Regions from separate parts of the Homo sapiens genome. Here region 1 is linked to region 2. The links are contacts of gene promoters, found by promoter capture Hi-C in blood cells and fetal thymus (Javierre and others, 2016). All regions are on one chromosome and are shown on one strand. The core of a region is centred on a gene start or on the middle of the fragment in contact, and the rest is flanking DNA. Distances in the headings are between cores, read along the strand shown. Region 1 has its middle 110 kb from the start of LINC02181. Region 2 holds the start of FOXC2 (forkhead box C2).

The links. Contacts are between HindIII fragments. The CHiCAGO score rates a contact against its expected background, and 5 or more counts as called.
Region 1: a contact is called between a fragment that was not itself captured here and the fragment with the promoter of FOXC2 in region 2, in 1 of 17 cell types (endothelial precursors). The highest score is 6.2, in endothelial precursors.

What each region holds. Positions count from the first base shown.
Region 1 is chr16:86,943,483-86,950,627 of GRCh38, reverse strand. No RefSeq gene overlaps it. Among named protein-coding and RNA genes, the nearest start is that of LINC02181, 110 kb to the left of the region's middle. The HindIII fragment of the contact is 1,649 bases long and covers 2,667-4,315 here.
Region 2 is chr16:86,561,695-86,568,394 of GRCh38, reverse strand. FOXC2 (forkhead box C2) reads right to left here and starts at 1,566. Exons shown (of 1, transcript NM_005251.3): 1 at 1-1,566. The coding sequence starts at 1,059. FOXC2-AS1 (FOXC2 antisense RNA 1) reads left to right here and starts at 634. Exons shown (of 2, transcript NR_125795.1): 1 at 634-778; 2 at 3,077-3,250. RefSeq lists enhancers at 263-846, 847-1,431. The HindIII fragment of the contact is 11,287 bases long and covers 1-6,700 here.

The DNA.
Region 1 (7,145 bases), core at 2,242-4,741, 380 kb before region 2:
AGAGAGCACAGATATCCCTCTTGGGAGGCCCAGGGAATGATGAGGAACTGATATCTGGAATGATGGGAGGTACCTTGTAACTCACATCTACTCCTTTTCAGAGTGTGACTGGGAAATCATTTCTGGTGGAAGGTGGAAGTGGGTGGGGAGGAGAAGACACAGCAGCATGGCTGAGTGTTGTGAGCTGGTTCTTGCTGGACTGGAAGGTCAGATAAAGAGCCTTACAGCCCTGACTTTGTAAGGCAGGGCACACAGACATAGGGGACATGGGCTTTGGGAACTCAAGATTCAGAACCTTCCCTCCACAGTCCCGTGACTTTGGATAGGAGATTCCACCTCTCCCAGCCTTGGCTCCCCACCTGTACATCAAGGACTGATAGAATAACTCCTTCCTGGAGTTACCGAGGACTTAGATGAGCCAGGGCAAACAATGCCTTCCGCTGTGCATGCCCTCCGGATGCACCACTGGTGTGGTAACTATGCCCATTGAACCTGCAATATGTGATGATGAGGGCCTCGTTTCTCATGTGACAGATCTGGAAACTGAGGCTCGGTGAGGTGAGGTTTAACTGGTAGGGCTAGATGATAACTCAAGGCCTCTGAGGCCCAAGGCTCGAGCACAAGGCCAAGGGCGTCTCCTTTCCCTGAAGTTCTTTCTGTGTGATTGTCTGTTGTACCTGATCACGGCATCACCTCCTTATGTTATATCATATATTATAAACATTATATAATATCTAGCATATTCTATATTAGGTATGTATATTTTATAACATAGAAATATTATGCAATGCAAGCATTTTATGTAATATAATAGGATATCACAATGTATGTAGGTTAAAGTGGGCTTAGTTCATGAAACCCCAGGAGGTGGTTGGGGACACCTGCTGACTTGTGAAACCAGCTGGGGACAGGCTGGCCCAGACCCCCAGGTGTTCTTGAAGAAGTATTTGGCTTCAGGAAAGAGAAGGTAGTTGCTGTTAATCCTCAGAGTGCCTTAAAAGATAATCGTGGCTTCACAACAAAGAAGAAACGAACCAATTTGCCTCTGTCTACCCCTTTCAGAACCACCGTGAGAACAGCTGGTACTCATGGACCAGTGGCAGCTGGATGACCCGCAGTCGCCATCCACTGAATCCTTCCAGGAACACCTGCACGTGGAAGCAGGTATTGCTCTCTCACCACTTTGCAGGTGATAAAATGCAGCCCAGAGAGATGGTGGGATGTGGGGAGCTGGGAATCCCCTTCAACTCGGCTCCAAGGCTCCTGGCACAGCTCCAGGCCAGTGTAAGAGAGAAAACTCGCGAGCGGCATGTCCCGGCTCATCCTGTGGGGTAGGAAGGAAAGGCTCCAGACACAATTAGAAGTGCTTCAGAGCGAGTGGAAAGTTCTCAGGAAACGTATTATCATTAGAGCTGGCTGCTTGCTTCCCTGGACGGGGAGAGGGCATGCATGTGCGTCTATGGTGGATGCACTCACTGTGCGACGTCCTATATGAAATCCTTCTCCTCACAAAAAAGTGAAAAAATGGGCTTGCTTTCTTGCGTGAACTTTTCTTCCTGCTGTGTTTCTAAGAGTATCAGAGAGGCTGTTGACTCAAAGGGCAGGAGCTAGGCGTACCTGGTTAAAGAAGGTCTCTGATTGCCTTGTAGATTCAGAAACTTCCCTTAGCCCCTCATGCCTCAGTTTCCCCATCTCCAAGTGGTTTGAGAACAGAGAGGAGGGAATTGCTTAGAGGACCTCCAAGGTCCTCTCTGGGTCCTGGGATTCTTTCTTTTGGCAAAGAAAAGTCAGAGAGGCAGTGTGATGTCACTGCTGAACGCGGGGCCTCCGCAGCAGCCTGAGGGCTCTCCATGCCAGCTTTGCTCCCTCTGCACTGTCCTGACCTTTGGAAAGTGTCTCCCCCATGGCTGTCAGTTTCCCCATCTGTAAAATGGAGATGAAAATGGAAATAACTGTCTTTGGGTTCCATCCTTTGAGGTAAACCTTTTGGGAGATTGAGTCAGCACACACGCAATGTGCGTGAAACTACCCAGCACTGAGAGAGCTTGTCCATCTCATGTGTTTCTGGAGAAGGTGGCGTCTTCCCTCCACACCTCTTCCTCCAGGTGATAGCACTGAATGGTCAGTCCTAGGGGGCTCAAAGAGAGGATTCCATTGGGAACTGATGGAAATTTCCTAGTCCAGCCTCCTTCTTTCACCTGCATATGCTCACCGCCCTCCAATGCTGGTCCCGGAATTTAGCTCAGAAAATAACGCATGCACACAGGTGATAGAGATGTCTGGGTACGTAGGTACACCTGGGTGCACATGCGGAAACTCCTAGAAGGACTGGCGTCATGAAGATGTGTGGCGTTGGTGGGGGCGGAGGTGCTCAGGGCAGAGCCTTTCCTGGCAGGATTTGTCCGTGGAAGCTCGGGGAGTGGGAGCAGGAGCAGGAGCAGGAGCAGGAGCAGAGTGGCTGAGTGGGCTCAATTCCTGTGAAGGGCAGGAGCTTCAGAGCTCCTGGGCTTCCCTGTATCATTCCTGGCGTGGCCACAAGGACCTTATCTAGTGGCAGGGCAGAGGCAACAGCGGCACTAATAGCAGTAGCTGTCACAGCAGCGTGTCATGGTGTTGGACACGTAGTCTAAGTTTTTAAAATACATAATATGTTTCACACAGAAGCTTATTTTCGTAACACGATATGGCATGGCAGGTACTAGTATCTTCAGGGTACAGATGAGGAAACTGAGACACACAGAGCGCAGCAACTCATCACAGTTGCAGGGTGAGAAGGTGGGTGAAGGGGCTGTGGCTTCGCAGCCATCTCTGCCATCTGAGCCCTACGCACTGACCTTTGTGCAGGTGGGGACGCCCGTGGCTTGATGTGTCTCTGGGTGTGCAAGTGTACGATGAGGGTCCTGGCTCGGGACGCTCAGTATGGGTTAGCAGCGGGCAGCAGGTTTCTCAGCCTGCCTCTGTCACTCGGGAGTTGGTTCTGTGAGCTAGTTCTCCCCCTGTGCCTCAGTTTCCCCATATGAGGATAACAAGACCCTCTCCTAGGGCAGCTGTGAGGAGATGAGAGAAACCTGTGGCCGGGTAGCTCAGTGCCTGGCTCGTTGAAGGGGTCCATAAGTGGCAGGCAGAGGACGGGTTGGGCCTGGTGGACCCCAGAGCTCCTCCCATAGCTGGGACTTGCCACTCCGTAAACTCGTCAACAGGTTGTCTTCAAAGAAAATGTTCAAGGGAAAGTGTTCACCCTTCACCATCCTCTTGAGGACAAAGACAGTGGTTCTGAGCATGGCCCTTGGAGCACCCGTTAGCCACACTGGCCAGCAGAGCAGTTCTGGGAGGCCAGAGGGTGTTGGATGGCGAGGTCTGCGGAGTGACCGAGTGACCACGCAGAGAATCCCCTGGCCCCTTCCCTCATCCTGAGGTGGCCAAGGACACCAGGAGGAGGGAACATGGGGCTGGTTTGGACCAACAGGTGGAGCGGGAGGGTGCACACACCGTCAGCAGCATCAGCATGTTGGGGGACGCGGCAGGAGAAGCCAGGAGCCTAGCTGCTCACAGCAGGATGGAGATGATGAGGCCTGGAGGGGGTCTGCAGAGCTTTCCCAGGCACGGCAGTTGAGCTGGGCTGCAGACCCCCACCTGATGGTGTGGGGGAGAGGGGGTGAGATTCCAAAAACTACTGGATGCTATGTTTATCACCTGGGTGGGGAAACAGTCTGCACACCAAACCCCTGCGACAGGCAATTTACCTGTATAACAAACCTGCTCGTGTACCCCTGAGCCTAAAATAAAAGCTAAAAAAAAATCCCCCCTTGGAGCAGAAAAGGGAGAGAGACAGGGAAGCGGCTGAAGGCAGCAGCCTGTCTGGGGAGGTGGGGGTCAGGCGAGGGAGGAGTTTGCTTCCCCAACCTGAGCAGTTTAACCTGCAGCCCTTACTCACCCGAGGGTACCTGCTGGGGCCCAATGCCTCCAGGGGTGTTTGTTCTGACTGCCCAGGCCCCAGCCAGGCTGGCCGTGAATATTTTCAGTGTCATCTGATCTTTCCATCTCCTTGGCTGTCCTGTATAGAGGACCAAAGGACTTTATTTCAGGACATTCCCATCATTCCTGCAGGGTGACACATACACGATAACCATATCTGTATGCACGGTGGTGGGGTAAGCAGAGGATTTGGGGGCGTCCCTGTTTCCTTTCTGTAAAATAATTACAGGAAAATAGGATGCTAATTCTATTTTCATTTACATGAAATAAATAATAAATGACTTTATATTTGAATAGGCAGTGCCCAAATGAATCATTTCAAAAATGTTAATGAGAAGCTTTAGCGTACTTCTGTGAATGTAACTTTCTTTTTCATAACAGTCTTATTGAGGTGTAATTAATCTACCGTAGAATTCAGCCATGGAAAGTTTCCAGTTCAGTGATTTTAGTGTCCTCACAGATTTATGCAACTATCACAATAATCAATTTTAGAACATTTTCATCATCGCCCCCGAAAAACCATGCTTGTTAGAAGTCACTCCTTTTACCCACCACCTCCCCAAACATAGCTTTCTTAAAGGAAGTCAGGTTTTATGCTGGAAATAGCTATGTGCAATTCTTGGCTGACATGTGAACGTCCCTCTTCAAAATCTTGAAGTCACTATCGATGTGAAACTTTGGTTGCACAGGTATGTGATAAAAAGATCTAGGAAAAATTTCAGAAAGTATTTAAAAATTTGGAAGAGTTTAAGTGACTATGGAAAGAAAGAATCCCATAGGTCGTTCTTTTCTTGGCTGAATACAATGCTGACGTTTACTGTGATAATGAGGGTATGCCCTAAACTCGGCTGGACTTGTTTGATTGGGTATTTCACAGTGCTGGTGCTGCTGGAAGCTGCGGAACACACACGCATGGTTAGAACAGCTCTCGGCCCGTGGCCACCCAAAGGGTGCACCTGCAGGGAAACTGAGGCCTTCCTCTGGACTCCGTGCTTCCTCAAGGTCTCTCCTGAAAGGTCTGCATCCTGCCATGTGCTGACGGGGCTGGCGCCGTCCGTCCTTGCCCTGAGCCCTGCCGTGTTGGCGTGGTTGAGGGGTCTGCTGCCACGCTGCCTCTCCCAAGGAGGCTTGGGCAACCCAGTGAGGAGGAAACCTTGAATAAACTTCAGGAAGAGCAAATCCATTCTCCCACTTTCCCAGAACCCAAAGGGCTTCCACACTTTAGGGATGTGTTGTTTTTGAACCTGAGCCCATCATGGCCCTGGACATTGATCAAAGAGAGTGGCTTGTTTTTCCTAAAAGTGTGCGGATGGGTCCGATCAGCAGAATTTCAGGTGCAGTGACTCAGCTTTTCCTCTGCGGCTACCACCTACCCGACATGGCCCCCATGGGGTGGCATCCAGACCCTTTCCTCGGGCTTGCTTTTCTGGAAGCCCCCACACCGCGGTTAGGGTCTGGGATTTGGAATCAGACAGATAAATGGGTTTCAAGGTCTCTCTTTCCAGCTGCTCAGAATGACCACCGGCAAACTCCTTCACTTCCCTGAATCTCAGTTTCTCCTATTTAAAATGGTGATAAGACTGGTGGGCAATAGATACTGCCTCTTGGGAGGGTTAAGGTAAAATCAGAACAGGAGATGACTGCAAAGTCCCTGGCAGTGTTCCTGGCACAGACAAAAACATTTGTGGCAAACCTGGAGTGGCCAGATTCCCCCTCAGCCTCCCCAGAGGCCAGAAACTTTGGTGGATCATTCCTGAGCCCACTCATAGCTTCCTTCTTTCAGCACTTGCCTCCCTCCACCAGAGAACTTTCTAGGCTGAAAGAGCATCCTTGGGCTGTGCAGGGAATCAATGTCCTCAGAGCAGCCCCCCGAGGAGGGATGGAGTAGATGGGAAACACCCCTGCGTGTGTTTCTTGGGAAGATAATTCTGAGGCATCTTCCACAGGCCTCTATAAAGGGTCCCAACAGACCAGAGTCCAGTCACCCTGCTACCACCCATTCATGGTTGGCTTTCTCACCTCTGGGCCTCATTTCCCCATTCCCCTCCTGGTACTTTCTAAATTTACCTCCAAAGTAATTCACTTGGGCCCAGGTCCCTAAATCCCTTGTCTGTAGGTTTGCTTTGGGGGACACCCAGCCAAAACAAGAGTCGGTAAATATGGGCTATTATTATTATTATCACTCAAAAGGCTGGATGCAGAATGAGAATAAATTCATGGTCAAATTTTGTCCTATGGATTTCATTTCATTTTATGGGCAGGTGAGAGGTCATATCTAGATGATATCAGAGAGCCAATTTGGAAACACTCAGTTGGTTATCATGGGATTTTATTGAGCAGCAATTAGATTCCCAGTGCTGGGTGAGGGGTGTGGACCTGGGCCATGGGCACCCATGGCCCTACACTCTAGAAGGGCAGAGTCTATGGAGCAGAAGCGGTGTTCAAGTGAGTTCAAGATCAAGCACATGTCCCCCAGTCTAGGTACGAGGAATGGCCTGGCGGTAACCAGGGAGATATAACCCAAGAGGTGGCGTTTGCTCTGGACCCTGAAGAGTAAGTGTTGCACAAGGAAAATGTTGGGACGGCATCCATGGGAGGCGAAGAAGAGTGTGTGCAAAAAGTTCAGGGCATGAGAGGACCTGGCAGGGAGAGACAGGGGTGACCAAGAAAATGTAGGTTGAGGCTGGGCATGACGGGCAAAGTGACTTAACTTCTCTGAGCCTCATTTTCTTCATCTGTGAAATAGGATCATAATAGCATCTACTGAGATAATGCTGGATTGTCGTAGTGGCTCAATAAAGGTTTCCTGCTTCCATTGCCATTAGGGTCAAGTGCAAGGACTTCAGAGAGGACTTAAGAATCTGCACTTTTTCCCGGCATGCTGAGAGTTGTGGGGCTGGAGGCAGCACCGTCATAATTGAGTTTTAGCATCAGAGGTCTGGAAGGCTAGATGTCATAGTGTTACCTTGACTTTCTCCTCTTTCTGTAAGGAGAATGCATCACTTCTATAATAAGAATATATGTTTAAAAGCCAGAAGAGCACAGTGAGTTGGGAGCTTCTGGAAGCTGGACAGACTGGGTAGGCCAGAGTAGGAGGGTGGGTCAGCCTCCAGCTTTTGGGCTGAAGCGTTCCTGGGAGAATCTGATAAAGCTAATGGGAATTCCTCGCA
Region 2 (6,700 bases), core at 317-2,816:
GGCGGGCGGGACGCACATGTGCGCCGGCCGCTCGGCCCCGGTGTACAGGCTCATCGCTCGCATGCTGCACTGGTAGCCCCCGGCGGCCCCGGCCTCCAGGCCCTGAGCGCACGGCTGGCCGTAGGCGGCGGGCGGCGCGGCGGCGTAGGGCAGCGCCAGCGGCGGCACCACCAGGCCCGCGCGTCCGGCCCCCGGGCTCAGCTCTCCGCCCGGCGGCGACGTTCGCAGGGTCATGATGTTCTCCACGCTGAAGCCAGGCAGCCCGTTGGGCGCCGCGGCGTGGTGCTCCGGCAGCGAGCCGTCGGGGGAGCCGGCGGGCGTGGAGGCCGCGCTGCGCGGGCTGCCCTGCAGCGCGCTCTCGGGGCTCAGCGTCTCCACCTTGGTGATGACCGGCAGCGCCGGGGACGCCGCCTCGCTCTTGATCACCACCTTCTTCTCGGCCTCCTTGGGGGCGTCCGCTAGGTGGGGGGTGGCCGGGGCGCCCTTGGACGCCGCCGGGGGCGGCTCCTTGAGGTGGGCCCGCTCCTCCTTCTCCTTGGACACGTCCTTCTTTTTGAAGCGCCGCCGGCGCCGCAGGAAGCTGCCGTTCTCGAACATGTTGTAGGAGTCCGGGTCCAGGGTCCAGTAACTGCCCTTGCCGGGCTTCTTGTCGTCGCGGGGCACCTTGACGAAGCACTCGTTGAGCGAGAGGTTGTGGCGGATGCTGTTCTGCCAGCCCTGCTTGTTCTCCCGGTAGAAGGGGAAGCGGTCCATGATGAACTGGTAGATGCCGTTCAAGGTGATCTTCTTCTCGGGCGCGTTCTGGATGGCCATGGTGATGAGCGCGATGTAGCTGTAGGGCGGCTTCACCAGGTCCTTAGGCGCCGCGGGCTGGTGGTGGTGGTAGGGCGCGTAGGAGCGGCCCATCCCCGCGCTGTACTGCTCCGGGTGGCCGGAATAGACGCCCATGGGGCTGGCCATGCCGCCGTAGCTGCCCGCAGCCCGGTAGTAATTCTGCTCGCTCAGGTAGGGCACCACTCCCAGGGCGTTGGGGTCGGACACGGAGTAGCGCGCCTGCATGCTGCTTCCGAGACGGCTCGCCGGCGCCCTCGCGCACGGACTGCGGCCGGGGGAGCGAGGGGGGCCCTGAGAGCGAGAGAGCGCGAGAGAGCCAGAGGGGGAGAGGAGGGGAGCGGGAGGGGCGGCCCCGGGCTCCTGGCAGCCTCCGGGGCGAGGGTGCGCGGGCGGCGGCGCTCGGGCCGAGCAGGGGCGCGCGCTTTCAGCGGACCGGGCGGATCGGCATCCTGGAGGGCGCGCCCCGGGCAAGCGCAGCGCCGGCCCCGCTCCTCGCTGGCTCCAGGACCCGGCGGCGGCAGCGCGGGCAGGCGGGCGGCCGCGGACCCAGCGGAGACGCCGCGGCCTGGGGACCCAGGTGGACCCTCGGCCCGCGCGAGGAGGGGCGCAGGAGGCTCTCCAAGCCCCCAGCGAATCGGCAGCCCCGAGGGTCAGCGCGCCGGGGTCCGAGCGGCTGCCCCGCTGAGCCCAGAAAAAGAGGCCAAGTCCCTTTTAGGGATTGGGAAAAGTTTCAAAAGTCTTCTTGCTGAAAGCGAGTTTTTACTTTCCTCGGGCCACGCCCCCTCCCGGAACTTTGAGCCAATCACCCGGCAGCTGAGAGGAGTCGGCGCCAATCGGGGCGAGGAGCGCAGGAATCCGTCGGCTCTAAGACCCCGCCGCCCCGGCCTCCGCGGCGACTCCGTCTTCACTTGAAAACTTTTTAAAAAGTTATATCTTATTAAAATTTATTTTATGATCACATTTTGGTGAATGGGCCCACATGCCCAAAACAAAAAGATAGCCACTTTCCTCTGTTAAAAAAAATCAATTTGAAATATAAAATAGAATGGATTAATAGAGTAAAATATCTCTCCCAAAGACCTTGTAAGTAGCAATGATCCTGGGACATTTTTCTTATTAATGAGTGATGAAGCGAATAATTAGATTTCCTAATTATGGGGGCCCAGGTGTAATGGATTCAAAGCAAACGCGCTGGATTGGAATGGCAGGGCCTCTCCTGGATGTTATACTTATTTAATCAAATAATTAATCATCAACAGGGAGTTTCCAGGCTCGGGGTCGTCAAGGATAACCTATCGAGGTTTTAGAGGTAAACCCTACAAACTGAGTTTCCCTCGCTCCCCGCCGAGGAGCCAGGCAGCGGAGTGCATAGAGGGGAAGGTAGCAACGTGCTGACTGACAACTTAATCCTCCGAATTCGCGGGGAATTCGGTAGATCATCCGCGTCGCTGCGAGCAGTTTTGTGGGGTTTGGGGAAAAGGGTGAAGTGACTCTGCTATTTCCCCCTTTCGTCTCCCGCGTGGACACTCGCAGCCTACCAACTTCAGCTTCGAAACTCGTCTCCCTTTTCCCAGGTAGAAATTCCCTCTAACAAGCTGACCCCGCACTCCCAGAAGACCGGGACAATGCAGCGACCCACCCGGGCCAGGCAGAGCCGAGTTCCTGGGCCCTGCGAGGAGAAACCCGAGCCTGTTTTCCGCGGGGGCTTGGCTCGAAGGCGCGCGCAATGAGCGCCGCGCACCGCGGGCACCAAGCGTGGACGTTTCCCGTGGCCCAGGCCGGCGCCGGCCGCTAACACCGACCCTAGGGCGCTGTCCCTGCCTCCTGCTCCTGGCAACGTCCCCCTGGGAGCCTCCAAGTTGCTTTTCTATATTTCAGCCTTTTTTTTGTTTTGTTGGGTGGGTAGGGTGAGTTAGGGAGCGCGCTCCGTGGGAAGACTGGGTGAGCGGTTGATTGCAAACGGTTCAAGATCCCTTCGGGATGATATTATTCGGCAGGCAGACCTGGAGCGACTTGGATCTCCTTCAAGGATTTCTCCTTCCCTCTAGGAATCCCGGACAGTTTGTTTATTTGTGGACTGATTATTTATTCCTTCCACACCTCAATAATCAGATCCCCTTTTCCCACTTTCCCTGAAGGAGTGAGACACCCCTTTAACAAGGCTAAACACGGGCAGAATTTTGGAAGTTGCTGGTCTGGTTGGGCAGGGAAGAGGGCTTCAGGGAGAACATTTGTATTTCAGGTTTCCTTGCACCCTTCCTGGCTGTTCATCGGCTGCGTATTCGATTCTCAGCAAAAGGATGTTGAGACAACCCACCAGGCCTCTTCGCTTCGGCCTCTTCGCTTCGGGGAGGCGACTAGAAGGCAATGGGGCGTGCCACTTATTTCCAATAAAAGAACAGAAGACGAAAATGTAGATGCATTATCTTTGTCTCCTGATCAATTCAAAGCCAAAGGGAAGCTACAAATCAGGTTCCTTTACCTTGAATATTCCACTTCTGAAACATTGTTTTTATGAGTATTCTGGGCTCTTTTTCTAACCTGATCCTTTTTCTTCTTTCTTTGAAACAAAGTAAAATAAAGCTGCCCAGTTCTCAGCTCACAGGCAAATGATTTGAGCTTTCTGCCCCAACCCTAAACTCCCACCATGACTTTATTATTTTTAATAAGCTAGTATTTCCGCATCTAGCTTAAAAAAAAAAAAGGACTAGCAAAAAGTGCCCTTCTCCTGCAGCGCATGACAGGCACACTGAGTTCGTGTCACGATTTTACTGGAAATGCAAACTATTGATCAAGAAACACTCCTCAGCCTGTAGGCTTCCTGGAGGAATATTATTTACTCTGCTTTTACGAGGGGTGTGTGTGTGTGTGTGAGAGAGAGAGAGAGAGAGAAACAGCTTTATCACAGCAAAACCTAAAATAGCTAAGGACTATGAAAAAATAAATTCCAAAATGGCAGTTGCTGCCTACGTTTGTATTCACAAGGGTGTCCCGGTTTAAACCAATGTCATCTGGGGAAACAAACAAACAAACAAACAAACACCTAAATCGAGTCGCCCAATATATTATCCACCCTCCCCCGCCCCAAAGAAAGGAAAAGGGGAGGGGAAAGAAATTCGTCTCATCAAGACAGAAAAGGTGAGAGAGACACTTCCCTTTACCCCTGGAATTAGGTTTCTTGTTTGCTCAGTGGGACTCCGGGAAAGATGTTTGTTCAGGTTATTAAAACAACGCCTTCCATACACCTGGACTTTGCAAAAACCGTATTTCCCAGCTTTTCTTTAACCTGCCAGGGTATTTCGGATGGGGGGCTGCTACTTTCTGGCTGATTTTCCCCCTTCTTGACCTTGTAAGTCAGTGAGCCGAACGCGGAATCGGGTCCCAGAGGGCCTCGCGTGTTCCTGGAATAATAAGCGGCGATAAAGCCTAAAGGTATTTAATTCGCCTTCCGCCCCCACCGCGCTGCGCTCCTCCCGGCCCGTGGCCGCTGCACCTGGAGCGGCTGGGCGGACTCCGTGGGTGTTGGCGTCATCTTGAGGCCAACCAGGGAACTACTACGAGAAAAGGAAAAAGAAAAAGACCGCCCGGCCCGCCCTGCTTATCATGAAGGTGCTGACACCTTGTGGATACTCCTGGGCATTGCACGGCTGGAATGGAGCCTTCAGAAATCTGTAAAAGCAGAGAAAGGAGATAAACTGCATCGCGTCGATTAAAAAACATTTCCCGTAACTTCGCAACGTGTCAAGAACATGATCTGTTGGGAAACAAAAATGTCTTTGAAACTGCTCGGGGAGCAAGAAATTTTCTCTAGGGAAACTTGCTGGGGTTTTCCCCAAATAAAATCTATGCCTCTTAGGTGGCTAGAAGTCTGCATTTTCTTCCCCCGGAGTTGTTGAACAAATTGCCTCGTCCATGTTTTCCCGCTGCAGCTGTCTTTCTGCCCGAGGTGTGGCGTGAGCTTCAGGGAATTCATCAGAAAGCTGTTTGTGCTGGTCGTGTGTTTAGAGGGTTGGCTTGAACAAGAGGCAGACTTTGAAACTGGGCAGCAGCCACTTCTACTTTTGAGGTACAACAGAGAACTCAAAGAGGGGACAAGTGAAAGGAGTTTTGTTTCTTGTCTCACTATTTCCCATTCATTCATTTCAATATCCTTCAAACATTTCTTTTCTGGGGTCACGAGGTGCCTTGGTTTTGAGGAAAGGGATCGGGTGGCAGAGGAGTCCCAGGCTTCCAGAAGCTGCCTGAGAACCGAGGAGCCCTTGGGTTACACAAAGTCGGCGCCACCTCCTAAAAATCCATTGTAATCCGGCTTCTAAACTTTTGTGGGACAAAAAAAGTGTCTTTTCTAAAACTCAGTTCAAGCTCATTTTACTGTGTGTGAGTTTTCCGGTGAGTGAAAGCCATGCTGCGCCATCGACAAAGGGCAGGGCCAGAAAGGACTACAGAAGCGGGTGGGTAGTGAGAACTGCTGTTGGTCACAAGGATTAAAGAAACTCAACAAGTAAACGCAACCCTCAATCCTAGGCGGAAGAAATTTTTTTTTCTTTTTTCTTTTTTTCCTGTTGTTGTTGAGACGGAGTCTTGCTCTGTCGCCCACGCTGGAGTGCAGTGGCACGATCTCCGCTCACTGCAGGCTCCGCCTCCCGGGTTCACGCCATTCTCCTGCCTCAGCCTCCCGAGTAGCTGGGACTACAGGCGTGCGCCACCACACCCGGCTAATTTTTTGTATTTTTAGTAGAGACGGGGTTTCACCGTGTTAGCCAGGATGGTCTGGATCTCCTGACCTCGTGATTCGCCCGCCTCGGCCTCCCAAAGTGCTGGGATATTTTAAACAGCAACCAAGGACAGGTTTGAGGAGACTTGGGAAGATTTGCATCTGGGATGTGTATGAGATAATAACCTTGAATCAAGGGTAAGATTCTTGCGTGCGATAATTATACATGGTCAAGTAAGAGCATGTCCTTGCTTTTAGAAGGTACGTGTCAAAATGTTTGGGGCTGATATTCATCATCTCTGCAACCTTTAAAAAATTCACCCTGCCGGGCATGGTGGCTCATGCCTGTAATCCCAGCAGTTTGGGAGGCTGAGGTGGGAGGATCGCTTGAGCTCAGGGTTTCAAGACCAGCCTGGGCAACACAGTGAGACCCTATCTCTATAAAAAATACAAAAAAAAAAAAAAAAAAAAAAAAGCCGGGTGTGGTGCTGAGCACCTGTAGTGCCAGCTATGTGGGAGGCAGAGGCAGAGAATTACTTGGGCCTGGGAGGTTGAGGCTGCAGTAAGCCATGATTGCACCACTACATTCCTGCCTGGGTGACAGAGCAAGACCCTGTCTCAAAAAGAAGAAGAAGAAGGAGAAGATTCAAAAGATTCAACCAAGGTGGGGTCAGAGGGGAGAAGGAGGGCAGAAGGTCGTGCAAAGGTAGTAAGATGAGAACAGTTGTTGAACCCGTGGTGCCTGGGTATTGATTGTATTGTTCTTGCAATTCTGTAAATTTGAAATTTTTCAAAATAAAAAATGGGAGTAAAACACTTTTGTTACTGTGAAAATTTGAAAAGAAATGTGACAGTAAAGGAAGGTATTTCCATGGAAGGAATTTGCAAAATGTTTAGCGAGGGCCTAACTTAGTCCAGCGTCTGCTCTCCTCCTTTACTGGAAGTTTCTGGAAAACTACCATCAATAGCTATGGAGTTCATCACAATAATTCATGGTAAAAAAAAAAAAAAAGGCACATTCTCTGAGGAGCTTATCTGTTTTATAATTCAGGCATTGCCACAATTAACCAAAGATGCCAGACATTCCATATTATAGATGTTGTGGGATTTTATTTTTTTTTAGACAGAGCCTCACTCTGTCACCTACGCTGG